Regions from separate parts of the Homo sapiens genome. Here region 1 is linked to region 2. Evidence: promoter capture Hi-C in human tissues and cell types (Jung and others, 2019). All regions are on one chromosome and are shown on one strand. Each heading gives the region's core, a stretch centred on a gene start or on the middle of the fragment in contact. The rest is flanking DNA. Distances are from core to core; before and after follow the strand shown.

The links. Contacts are between HindIII fragments. The study calls those that stand out against the background at their distance.
Region 1: a fragment that was not itself captured here is called in contact with the fragment with the promoter of USP6 in region 2 in 1 of the 25 tissues and cell types used here (pancreas).

The regions. Positions count from the first base shown.
Region 1 is chr17:5,251,448-5,258,439 of GRCh38, forward strand. No RefSeq gene overlaps it. Among named protein-coding and RNA genes, the nearest start is that of SCIMP, 20 kb to the left of the region's middle. RefSeq lists an enhancer at 3,071-3,576. The HindIII fragment of the contact is 4,315 bases long and covers 1-3,730 here.
Region 2 is chr17:5,114,147-5,120,692 of GRCh38, forward strand. USP6 (ubiquitin specific peptidase 6) reads left to right here and starts at 1,886. Exons shown (of 38, transcript NM_001304284.2): 1 at 1,886-2,594; 2 at 4,054-4,144; 3 at 6,481-6,546. ZNF232-AS1 (ZNF232 antisense RNA 1) reads left to right here. Exons shown (of 3, transcript NR_135658.1): 3 at 12-236. It also overlaps a transcript of ZNF232 not described here. The HindIII fragment of the contact is 4,107 bases long and covers 1-2,571 here.

The sequences.
Region 1 (6,992 bases), core at 323-2,822, 140 kb after region 2:
AGGTATGATGAGCCATTGCACCTGGCCTTTTTTTTTTTTTTTTTTTTGAGACGGAATCTTGCTGTGTCGCTCAGGCTGGAGTACAGTGGTGCAATCTCTGCCCACTGCAACCTCTGCCTCCCAGGTTCAAGCAATTCTCCTGCCTCTGCCTCCCAAATAGCTTGGATTACAGGAGCCCACCACCATGTCCGACTAATTTTTGTATTTTTGGTAGAGATGGAGTTTTGCCATGTTGGTCAGGTGGTCTCGAATTCCTGGCCTCAAGTAATCTGCCTGCCTCAGCCTCCCAAAGTGCTGGGATTAGAGGTGTGAGCCACTGCACCTGGCCTATGATTTTCTTAATAACATTTTCTTTTCTCTATCTTACTTTACTGTAAGAATACAGTATATAATACATATAACATACAAAATGTGTTAATCGATTGTTAATGTTATTGGTAAGGCTTCTGGTCAACAGCAGGCTATTAGCAGTTAAGCCTACTATTGACCAGAAGCCTTACCAATAACATGTGGGATGTCAACTGCACCAGGGGTTGGCACCCCTAACCCCTGTGTTGTTAAAGGGTCAACTATTCTTATTTTCCAACCTAATGTTGCCCTCCTCAGAGAGGCTTTGATTTTATCTAAAATAACATCCCTCAGTGAAAAATTACCAAGTATTCAATAAATCTGAAAAATACTTTCATGATGAAGAGAAAAATCAATTGCAACAGACCCAGGAATAACAGAGATGATGAGATTAGTGGACAAGAGCATGTTATGTAGAGACATAGAAGATATATAGATACTGATAGACTATGTATGTATATATGAGTGTATCTATCATCTATCTCTTCTAGAGATGAAAAGTACACTGAATGGAATTTGCAGCAGATTACACACTGCAGACCACAGATTAATGAATTTGACACAGTAATAGAAATTATCCGGGCGGGCCGTGGTGGCTCACACCTGTAATCCCAGCACTTTGGGAGGCCGAGGAAGGCGGATCACCTGAGGTCAGGAGTTCGAGACCAGCCTGGCCAACATAGAGAAACCCAGTCTTTACTAAAAATACAAAATTAGCCGGGCGTGGTGGTGCATGCCTGTAATCCCAGTTACTCAGGAGGCTGAGGCAGGAGAATCACTTGAACCTGGGAGGTGGAGGTTGCGGTGAGCCGAGATCACGCCACTGCACTCCAGCCTGGGCAACAAGAGTGAAATTCCTTCTCAAAAAAAAAAAAAGAGAGAAAGAAAAAAGAAAAAGGAAAAGAAAGTAATCTGAAGTGAAATACAGAGAAAGACAACGGCTGAGAATAAATGACAGTGAGTTGGGGGATAACTTCCAGAAGCCTAATGTACGTGTAACTGGAGTTTCCAATAACCGAGACTCCATTTCCAAAAGGAGGAGGTACAGAAAAATATATTCAAAGAAATAAGGGAAAAATTTTTCCTAACTTGATGAGAATGATACACCCGTAGATAATACACCCACCCAGCAAGCTCAATGAACCCAAAGCACAAGAATCATGAAGAACACTAATCAAAGTGCATCTTTTTTTTTTTTTTTTTTTTTGAGACGGAGCCTCGCTCTGTCACCCAAGCTGGAGTGCGGTGGCGCGATCTCGGCTCACTGCAAGCTCCGCCTCCTGGGTTCACGCCATTCTCCTGCCTCAGCCTCCCGAGTAGCTGGGACTACATGTGCCCACCACAATGCCCGGCTAATTTTTTTGTATTTTTTTAGTAGAGACGGGGTTTCACCGTGTTAACCAGGATGGTCTCGATCTCCTGACCTCATGATCCGCCCGCCTCGGCCTCCCAAAGTGCTGGGATTACAGGCGTGAGCCACCACGCCCAGCCCAAGGTGCATCTTAATCGGGCTACTTACAAACAGCAATGAAGAGAAGATATAAAAGCAGCCAGAGAAAAAAACAAATATAAAAATGACAGCAATCTTCTTTTTGGGAGTTAATGTGATGCAGAAGATGCTAAAGCAACATTTAAAAAGTACTAAAAGGGCCGGATGCTGTGGTTCACACCTGTAATTCCAGCACTTTGGGAGGCCAAGTCCGGTGGACCATTTGAGGTCAGAGTTCGAGACCAGCCTGACCAACATGGTGAAATCCGTCTCTACTAAAAATACAAAAATTAGCTAGGTATGGTGGCACGTGCCTGAAATCCCAGCTACTGGGGAGGCTGAGGCAGGAGAATTGCTTGAACCTGGGAGGCGGAGGTTGCAGTGAGCTGAGATCATGCCACTGCACTCCAGCCTGGGTGACAGAGCAAGACTCTGTCAAAAAAAAATTAAGAAAGAAATAAAGAAAATCGAAATAAAGAAAATCAAAATAAATGAAAGTTCTATCATATTCATGGATCGTAAGACTCAATATTGGTAAGATTTCAATTCTCCACAAATTGATCTACAAAATCAACACAGTTCCAATCAAAACCTTGGTGGGCTTTATTTGGTAGAATGAGCTGATTCTAAAATTTATTTAGAAATGCAAAGTACCTAGAATAGCCAAAATAACTTTGAAGCAGAATAAGTTGGAGGACTTACTACTTGATTCAAGAATTCTCATAAAGCTACAGTAAAAAAAACAATGTGTTATTGTTGCAGGTAATACATAAATAGATCAGTGAAACAGAAAAGAAAGTCAAGCAATAGACCTGCACATATATAGTCAGTTGATTTTTTTTTTTTTTTGAGATGGAGTCTCGCTCTGTCACCCAGGCTGGAGTGCAATGGTGCGATCTCAGCTCACTGCAACCTCTGCCCCCTGGGTTCAAGCAATTCTCCTGCCTCAGCCTCCTGAGTAGCTAGGTTTACAGACGCATGCCACCACGCCCGGCTAATTTTTTGCATTTTCAGTAGAGACGGGGTTTCACCATGTTAGCCAGGATGGCCTCGATCTCCTGACCTTGTGATCCACTCGCCTCAGCCTCCCAAAGTGCTGGGATTACAGGCACGAGCCACCTCGCCTGGCCATGGGTGCGGTTTATTTCATGTCAATCATAACTCAATAAAGCTGTCAAAAAAAAAAAAAAGAAAGAAAGGTGAGCCTGGGGTTGGGAAGGGTGAGTGTCAGTCAGAACATGGAGAACTCAGAAGCCAGACGGAGGGGTGTAGACGATCCCCCGGTGATGGGCCAGCACCCGAGCATTTCAGAAAGGAGTGGGTTGTGGGAAGCCAACACTGTCAGCAGGATCTGGAATGGATTGGATGCCAAAGAAAGGAGTGTGGGCAGGAGCTCCTTGCAAGGTACCTACTATAGTGGTGGGGGTGGATTCTAGAAATAAAAGGGGGTCATTTGGAAATGAAGGCGAGGTTAGAAAAAGAAAAGGAGGGAGAAGCAACTGGATCCATGACAATTTAGGGCCCGTCCCCCAGCTCCCAAAGCAGTCATTTGATAAACCAAATCGAGGGCAGAGAAGGCTCTTGGAAGCTTGAAAAAAAATTCCTGCTATGTCTGCTTCTTTCTGGTTTCTACCCTGTGTACAGGGTCCTGTGACCACAGCTCTTTCTGCTGACCGCAGCTGGGTATTCCTGCCTATGGAAAAAAACCACTCACTCGGCCCCGCTCACTCAGCAAAGGGGCCCGTGCTCCTGCTCCTGCACCCAACTGGCCTTCAGGACTGCAAGAGGCCCCAAGGGGCCAGCTCTTCCTGCTGCTCTCAGGGGCACCACCGTTACCCTGCCCAAGCCAAGAACTGTTTTCTCTCTCAAGTCAAGTTCCTCCTTTGGTCTGCCTTCTATCTCTCTAGGTGTAATGTAAGCCATGAATATTCATCCTGCCAAAGAGCCTGGAGTCAGTACCTGACTTTTCTGCTCACTTCCTCTCTACCTTGGTCCTACCTCAGTTTACTCCCAAAATGCTGCACCTACCACTATGCCCTGATTAACAGATGACCCCATCAGGTGACAGGAATCTAAATATAACTGTGGCTGGGTGGCTGACTTCCTGTGTGTGCTCAAGGCAAGAGACTAGGAATTGTGCCTTCACCAAGCCTGTAGATCCAGATCCTTGCTGCCTGAGACAGCCCTCAGGGTACAAGCTTGCAATCTGATGACAGAGAGAAGGGGAAGGGAGAAGAGGGGTGTGTGGTAGGAGACAGCTTGGTCCAGAGAAAGATGGGTGCCAAAACCAAGGCCAGAGGCAAAGTTTAGAGCCTTGAAAAATGACTAACATCAGTAAGGGATGGGTTCCTGTAAACTTTATTCTACCTAATGAGGAATCTGCGAGCCTTTGATTGACATCATAATAGTAAACTTGTGCCTGAATACCATGCCCAAGCCAACTGTTTCATTCTTTCTTCCATTTATTTATTCATCCAGCAAATATTCATTGAAACCCTGGTGGCTCCAGACTGACCAACATGGTGAAACCCCGTCTCTACTGAAAATACAAAAATTAGCTGGGTGTGGTGGCGCATGCCTGTAATCCCAGCTACTCAGGAGGCTGAGGCAGGGGAATCGCTTGAACCGGGGAGGTGGAGGTTGCAGTGAGCTGAGATTGTGCCACTGCACCCCAGCCTGGGGGACAGAGCCAGACTCTGTCTCAAAAAAAAAAAAAAAGAAACTCTGGTGGCAGACCTACATCCTGCCTTCAAGGAGTGGGCCCCAAAAAATAAAACTAAAAATTACGAACAATATGAAAAGGGCTCCAAAGGGGTCTTCAGCCCAGATCTGGCAGAGGTTGGGTCAGGGAAGGTTTGTTAGAAAAGATTCCATTCACACTCAAGTCCCAAAGGGTTTGTAGGAATAAGCTGAGAGAGGTGTGCCAGGGTCGGACAGATGGGCTGGGAAGACTCTGAGGGAGCAGTAAGCAGTCTGGATATTGGGCACTTAGGGTGAAATGGCATTGGGGGCCGGGATGAGGTGAGGCAAGGCTGGGCATACTGGCAAGTTCCTAATCTTGAATGCCTTCATTCACTCACTAACTCACCGAACAAATATTGATTGATTGATTGATTGATTGAGACAAAGTCTCACCCTGTTACCCAGGCTGGAGTGCAATGGCGTGATCTCAGCTCACTGCAGCCCCCGCCTCCTGGGATCAAATGATTCTCCTGCCTCAGCCTTCTGAGTAGCTGGGATTACAGGTGCCTGCCACCACGCCTAGCTAATTTTTGCATTTTTAGTAGAGATGGGGTTTCACCATGTTGACCAGGTTGGTCTCGAACTCTTGACCTCACGTGATCTGCCCACCTCGGCCTCCCAAAGTGCTGGGATTACAGGTGTGAGCCACCGCTCCCGGCCTGAACAAATATTTATTAAGGACCTACTCTGGGTCACACATTGTGCTGGGATCAAGAATAGTTTTGGCACTTTGGGAGGCCAAGGCAGGAGGATTGCTTGAGCCTAGGATTTTGAGACCTTGTCTCTATTTTTTTTTTAATTAGCTGAGTGTGGTGGCATGCACCTGTAGTCCCAGCTGCTCAGGAGGCTAAGGTGGGAGGATCACTTGAGCCCAGGAGTTGGAGGCTGCAGTGAACTATGATCAAGTTGCTGCACTCCAGCCTGGGCAACAGAGTGAGACCCTATCTCAAAAAATAAAAAATGTTTTAAAAAATAGTCCTGGATTCATTAAGAAATTTGCAGGCATTGGAATGATCTCCTGAGTTAGGTGATTTTACCACTAACAACAAAACATTTTTGAGCACACGCTGCCAACTATTCCAATTATTTGTTTATAATTACTCATACGACTATTATTATTTTTCTCAGGACAGACTATATACTGAAGGTGAAAGGCATTGTTAGTGATAAGGGATGTACAAATGTATTGCAAACACTCTTTTTGATAATTTCTCTCACTCCCTCTTGCTCATTTGCCAGATTTTTGGCAGATCTGATGAGATCATGTTTTTACCTATAATGTGGCTAACGAAGGACTTCTATTATGAAGAGAAGAAGCATCAGGTCTGCTATTTCCTTTTTTGTGGCTTGTGCTGGCTTTATTAGTTTATATTCAATCTGTCTATCTTTGCAAGCCCCATGTCCAGTTTTTGAGGGTTGGGTTAGTGGTAACGATAATATAATCAGAAAAGCTCAGCCGGGCGCAGTGGCTCACACCTGTAATCCCAGCACTTTGGGAGGCTGAGGCAGGCAGATCACGAGGTCAGGAGATCAAGAGCAGCCTGGCTAACATGGTGAAATCCCATCTCTACTAAAAATACAAAAAAATTAGCCGGGCATGGTGGCATGAGCCTGTAGTCCCAGCTACTCGGGAGGCTGAGGCAGGAGAATCGCTTGAACCCAGGAGGCAGAGGTTGCAGTGAGCCAAGATCGTGCCACTGCACTCCAGCCTGGGTGACAAAGCGAGATTCTGTCTCAAAACAAAACAAAACAAAACGAAAAAAAAAAAAAAAAGGCCAGGTGCAGTGGCTCATGCCTGTAATCCCAGCACTTTGGGAGGCCGAGGCAGGCGGATCACAACGTCGGGAGATCAAGACCATCCTGGCTAACACAGTGAAACCCCGTCTCCACTAAAAATACAGAAATTTAGCCGGGCGTGGTAGCGGGCGCCTGTAGTCCCAGCTACTTGGGAGGCTGAGGCAGGAGAATGGCGTGAACCTGGGAGGCGGAGCTTGCGGTGAGCCGAGATCGCACCACTGCACTCCAGCCTGGGCAACAGAGCAAGACTCTGTCTCAAAGAAGAAAAAAAGCTGTTTAGCTGCATCCATTTAAGCTGCAATGCAACACAGTATGGTAAAGGCAATGACCCCACTTGCTGTTGTGTCCCCTACCTGCAGGCAGGCTTCCCCTCTTCCATCAGACACTGTGCACCTGGCCCTACCCGAGGTGATCTGAGCTACACACCAGGATGTCAGTGCCAAACTGCAAAATATATATCAGCCCGATTTGATGTATGTCAGTCTTGCTACATTTAATACAAAATCACACGCTAGTGGGTCATTTCGTGGATTTCTGGAAATAGAACCCAGGCCCTTGGCAGCTGCTATCTCTTATGTCAGAGGTGGAAAAAGCTCTGATGTAGCCTATAGCAGGT
Region 2 (6,546 bases), core at 636-3,135:
TGTCTTCCTAGGGTTATGATTCTGTATGGTTTCTTTGGTGCTGCATTAGACCTGAGCTCTGATTGAAAATTCTTCCACGCTCGCTACATTCCAAAACTTTATCTCCAATATGAATTTCCAGATGCCTCACAAGGTCTGAGCTCCATCTGAAGGCTTTCCCATGCTTGTCACATTCATAGGGCTTTTCTCCACTATGAATTCTATGATGTCGAATAAAGTGTGAGCTCTGATTACAAGTCTTTGAACATTCATTGCATTCACAAAGTTTCTTTCCACTGTGAATTCTTTGATGCTGAATAAGTTGTGAGCTCCCCTTCAAATCTTTCCCACACCCAATGCATTTATAAGGCCTCTCTCTCACCTTGTATGGATTCTCTGATGTTCTGTAAGGACTGAGTTCTGGCCAGGCGCAGTGGCTCACGCCTGTAATCCCAGCACTTTGGGAAACCGAGGCGGGTGGATCAGCTGGGCTCAGGAGTTCGAGACCAGCCTGGCCAGCATGGTGAAAGCCCCTCTCTACTAAAAATACAAAAATTAGCCGGGTGTGGTGGTGGGTGCCTGTAATCCCAGCTAATTGGGAGGCTGGGGCTGGAGAATTACTTGAACCTGGGAGGTGGAGGTTGCAGTGAGCCGAGATCGGGCCACTGCACTCCAGCCTGGCAGCAGTGTGAGACTCCGTCCCAAAAAATAACAAACAAACAAAAAAGACACCAGAGGGCTTTGGGTCCCTCTCTCTCTGCCATGTGAGGACCCTGTGAGAAGGCAGCCAGGGAGCTCTCACCAGAACCTGACCATGTTGGGCCCTGGTCACAGCCTTGCAGCCTCCAAAACTGAGAAAATAAATTTCTGTTGTCTGGCATCCAGTCTATGGTATTTTGTTACGGCAGCCCGAGCTAAGACAGAGGAAAACTGGGGGCTGATGTGACGGCGGGGACTTTAGGTAGAAGGACCCCACGTCAAAAGTCAAAGCTAAAAATTCTGGAACGAGCCAGGAAGGCATCAGGACGTCTCATTTTATTTGCTAGAGGCATCTTTTGGGGGGTGGGGCGGTGGGTGGGTGGAAGGAGATGTGGCCAGTGAGCCTCTGACTTTTAATTGAGTTATTTCGAAACAAGGAACAGAGGGCCGGATGTGGTGGGTCGTGCCTGTAATTCCAGCACTTTGCGAGGCCGAGGCCAGTGGATCACCTGAGGTCAGGAGTTCAAGACCAGCCTGGCCAACATGGTGAAACCCTCTCTCTACTAAAAATACAAAATTAGCCTGGCGTGGTGGGGGGCGCCTGTAATCCCAGCTACTCGGGAGGCTGAGGCGGGACAACAGCTTTAACCCGGGAGGCGGAGGTTACAGTGAGCCGAGATGGCGCCACTGCACTCCGGCTTGGGCAACAGAGCAAGACTCCGTCTCCAAAAACACACACACACACACACACAAAACCCAAAACGGAACAGAGGCAGTTCTGTATTCCAGAGGGATTGATTTGTGATGCCTGCTCAAAACTCAAGAAGCCACCACCCTGATACTCATCAAACCCCGGAGAAATTTCGTTTTTAGAGTGTCAGAAGGCCCCATGAATAACCTTCCAGTCACTGAGGGAGGTCCCTACTCAGCACGCCCCGGTCTCCTTCACTCTCCTGCACTCGTGCCTCACAGATGGCCTCATGCGCGGACTGGCGGTCCAGCCTCCCGGGGACACAGCCCGGGCGCACCCCGCGCCGCCTTTGGCCACTGAGGCGGTCCTCGAGGCGCCGGGCTAGGGAAAGCCTCCCCGGCCGTCAAGGCTGGGATAGCGCCGGGGGATCGGGGCGGGGTGCGTGCGCCGAAAGGGCCTCAAAGCTGTAGGGCTGGACGGCACAAAGGGGCGCAAGGCACGGAGGCCAGGCAGAGGGGACAGCTAGCGGCGCGGCGGGACGGGCGGGCCCCGACGCCCAGCTCCAAATGCGTGGCCGCTGTGGGAGCTCGTCTCCAGGCGCCCATCAGTCTTCCCCTCACTCGACGCTACCTTGGCGGCCGCGCCCATGCTGTCCCCGCTCCAACTAGCAGTCAGGAGGGGCCGCGGGCAGCGCTCGAGACGCTCATTGAGAGGACTTCCCGCCTGCGGGCTCTCTGCTCGACGCCACTCCCGGCCCCGCTCCGGGCGGCCCCCCTCACCACTCCCGGCCCCGCTCCCGGCGGCCCGCCTCACCACTCCCGGCTTCCCGGGGCTTAGGCCCGCACCATCGAGTCGAACCGAGTCCTCATGTTTTCCTAGACAAGCCGCTGGGGGAGAGGGGAAACACTTCTGGCCCATGTGAGCCGCCGTCTCGTGTGGTGTCTGAGGGGCGTCTACCTGGAGTCACTGAGCCGACGAAAGGGAAAAGGCCAGTGCCTGTCCGGGAAGAGCTCAGCCTAGTGGGGCGGGCGACAAGTTACAGTTGCTGCCTTACGATGGCCGTGGCCCGTGGAGGCACTAGACCCTCACCAGGGGTCTGTCAGGAAAGGCGGGCAGATACGTGAGGCCTGAACAGGAAGGAACTGGGAGACCCAAGACTGTACCGCCAAGACCGCTTTCGAGTCGGGCCGACCGGAATTTGAATTCGTTTCTTCACTTACTAGTTGTGAGTCTTTGGGCAAATTTGCCTTTCTAGAGCGTAGTTTCTTATGTATAAAACAGGGTTAACAGTTGCACTCACTGAGGTAAATACAAGAGAAAATTGATGGTAAGTGCTTATCACGGTACCCAACACATAGCAAGTACTGAAAAGTGATGGAGCTAGGTACGGAGGGAGCAATCTTCACAGAGGGAACAGCTCGTGGAAAGGCCACAGGGCAAGAGGGCGGTGCCTACATTCTTGGGGAACTGCAGAGAGTTCATGGGTAAATAATAGGAAGGAAAGGTAAGTACTTTGCAGAAAGCCTTCCCCAGCTAGGTGAGACTCCCCACTGTAGTATCATATGCCTCTCCTTTTTGGCACTTATGGTTGCAACTTTATTAATGATTCTAATTAGTTTCTCTTCTACAATTATAAGTTCCATCAGGCCAGAGACTTGTCCATTTATGCTCACCCTGCTTTGTAGCACCCGCTGCTTAACACATATTAAAAGCTCGATAAGCCTGGGCGAGGGGGCTCAAGCCTCTAATCCCAGCACTTTGGGAGGCCGAGGCGGGTGGATCATGAGGTCAGGAGTTTGAGACCAGCCTGACCAACATGGTGAAACCCCCTCTCTACAAAAAATACAAAAATTAGCCGGGTGTGGAGGCACACACCTGTAATCCCAGCTACTCAGGAGGCTGAGGCAGGAGAATCACTTGAACCCGGGAGGCAAAGGTTGCAGTGAGCTGAGATTGCACCACTGCACTCCAGCCTGGGCGACAGAGCGAGACTCCGTCTCAAAAAAAAAAAAAAAAAGCTCAATAAATATTTACAGCACAAGTGAATAAATGGGGTCGCATCAGAATATATATGTCACAATAAGGACTTTGGACTTCAGGCTGAAGTTAGTGGGAAATCACTGTGGAAATTTAGAGAGGGGGATGGCACTATCAGATTTGTTCTGAAGGAAGAACATTCCAGCTGCCCTGTAGAGAAGCGTTGGAATCAGGGAGGCATGTTAGGAGGCTGCGATAATAGTACAAGCAAGAGATGATGGTGGCCTCACTCTAAGGGCATTAAAAATCAAGACAAGTGAGGCCGGGTGGGGTGGCTCACACCTGTAATCCCAGGACTTTGGGAGGCCAAGGCAGGCAGATCACCAGGAGTTTAAGACCAGGCTGGCTAACATGGTGTTAGCTGGGTGTACTGGCATGCACCTGTAATCCCAGCTCCTCCCAGCTCCTCAGGAGGCTGAGGCAGGAGAATCACTTGAACCTGGGAGGCGGAGATTGAAGTGGGCCGAGATCATGCCACTGCACTCTAGCCTGGGCAACAGAGTGGGACTCCGTCTCAAAAAAAAAAAAAAAATCAAGACAAGTGGACTATATTGGCAGATTACTGGCTAGCATTCACTTATTCTACCATAGTCATGTGCTCTCTCCCTCAGGGATGGTAGTGACAGTCTTATTTCCTATTGATACAGGATTTTTTTCCTTGATTCCTTCGTGGGACTCAAGACAGGGGTGCCCTGTTTACTCAGCCCACTGTGCTCAACCTCTTGCAGGAGTGTGCAGGTGAGTGAGCAAGTGCAGGATCTGGCTGGCCACTACAGGCACCAGCATGAGCAAGCTCTTTGCGGAGCCTGTGACCAGACCAGGCATGAGCAAACGACTGCAGGATCTAGCTGGCTGCTCTGGGCAGCTGCAGGAGCAAGCTCCATTTGGGGTCTGCGGTGCTGCCCAAGTGGGGGTGCCTGTGATCCCAAATCCCCAGAGGGAGTGTTACAGTGCTCTCTTAGCGCCACTGTTTGAGGATGGGTATGTGTTAACAGCTCAGCTGGCCCCTAGCCCCATTGCGTGGGGTGGCTACCTGCCACTGGTGAGGGCAAAGGGTGAGTGTGACAGCCTTTTGGGTAGCCAAACTTGGTGGGTCCCAAGCTCTTGTCTGGCATCCAAAAAGAATGAGGTTGTGTGGAGCACTTGAAGGATGGTGAAGGTGGAGAATTTTACAGAGTGATCACAGTGGCTCTCAGCGGAGAGGGGAGCTAGAGAGGGGGTAGAAAGGGCAGGTCATCTTCTCCCCAAAGTCTGGCCATTTCTTCCCGAAAGTCTGGCCATCTCTCTCATCTACTGACTGAGTCTGGGGTCTTTATAGGCACAGGATGAGGGTGGGGCAGCCATAGGTATTTTTGGAAAAGGCAACATTTGATTGGTAAGAAGACATTATTCAGAAAGAACCAATCGGGAGGGAGTAAGCAAACAGGAATAGAAGTTCTCACTTTGGGCTGTGGGTTTCAGGCTTTTCGGCTCAAAGATGGGGTTTCACTGGGGGCCTGCCACATCTGCTTAGAATTTCTCAACTTCATGTCCTGCCTCTATCACTATCAAGTATTTATATGAAGAAACCTCTCCTAAGCCACACTCCAATCACCCCTCTTCCTCAAAGAGATTATCAGACTCTGACTTTTTCTCAGTTTTGGTCCTCTTGGAGTTTGGTTCTTTAGCTGTTTAAAATCTTATGAAGGCAAACTTTGATCATTTAGGCTCTTTTCTCAAAGTTCCAAAGTAGACTGCTCCCTAACAGGTAGGTTTTATTTTGTGGAATTCAGGTTTACAAATTGGACATTACTACATTAGCTTCTGCTACCTATAAAAGCTTTGAATAGGTGGGCTTTTATTTCATGAATTACCTGATTATCTGAAAATTAACTCTTTTGTCCTTCTTCAGCCCCCACTAAAGTGAGGTCAGCTCAGGGAATGCAGCAGAAATTCACCTGGAAGCAAGCGAGGCTGGGGCCCAGAAACCCCCTGGGCTGGGCCATGCTTCCAGTCCAGTTCCCATCTTTTATGGATGCCTAGCCCTGACCCTCAGAGGACCCTGGGTGAGGCCTGGAGGAGCCCCTCTTCCCAAATAGACTTCATTTGTCCCTTGAGGCTCAGCTCACTGCAGTTAACTAACTAATGAGTAACTCAGTGTAAGAACACACAATGCTAATTATTATAATTAATTATAATAGTGATAGTCATTAAAACAAGGAACTTCTGCCCAGCACTACAAGTGACTCACAGCCATCATCTCAGCTGATAAACAGCTGGGAGAAAGATACTCTTTCTTCCTTTTGACCCGTGAAGAAACTGAAGCTCAGAGAGGTTAAGGGATTTATCTACGGCTGCACAGGGACCCCTCCTTCAGGTCTGTCGGACTTGTATCCACCCCACCTCTCTGCCCCCTCTCCTGCCTCTCCTTTCCAGAAGGTTCTAGGTCCCAGGAACTCCAAGGCTCAACCCAAGGATAGAGATCCAAGGTCCTGCCGGGGCAGTCAGGAGGCCTTACGTGCCCTCTCCTGTGGCTTCCTTCTCAGCCGAGTTCTGTGCTGCTCTAAGCTGGGGAAGCCTACTCCCCAAGAAGCAGGACACCCGGAAGGTGTTTCCCCCTGGCTTTGAGGCTGGTTATACATTGCTTTCCTCCAGCAGATTAACATTTGCTAATGGGGCCTGGCACGGTGACACCAACGTAGGGTTGCTCTCTGCATGCCTGTGCTGTGGGGTTGGTGGTGGGGGCAAGGCAGTGGTGGGGGCAAGGTCAGGGCAGTGAGTGAGGTCGCCTGTGGTCATCCTCCACTGTGCTGGGGGGTTGTTATCTCTCAGGGCTTAGCACTTGTTGGGGATGGGTGAAGTCCAGTCCCGAGTCACAGTGTGTGTTGTGGGAGGTTGCTGATATTCATAGCCCTGTATGTTTGAGTAATGACAATATCCACCTCCACCTTCAGGGTGAGGAGCTGTTGGCCTATCTGTGTCTGTCTGTCTGTCTGTCTGTCATCTGCACCTGTCTCTCCGAGGGAAAGAAGGCAGGCCCCAGGGTCTTTCCCCAGGATGGCCTTGGGTGAGCTCCTGCTGTCCTCTCTGCCCAGGAAATGAAGGCCCTTTGAGGTCAGGTGGATGAGGATGTCAGTGTGAAGATGGACACTGTGCCTGGA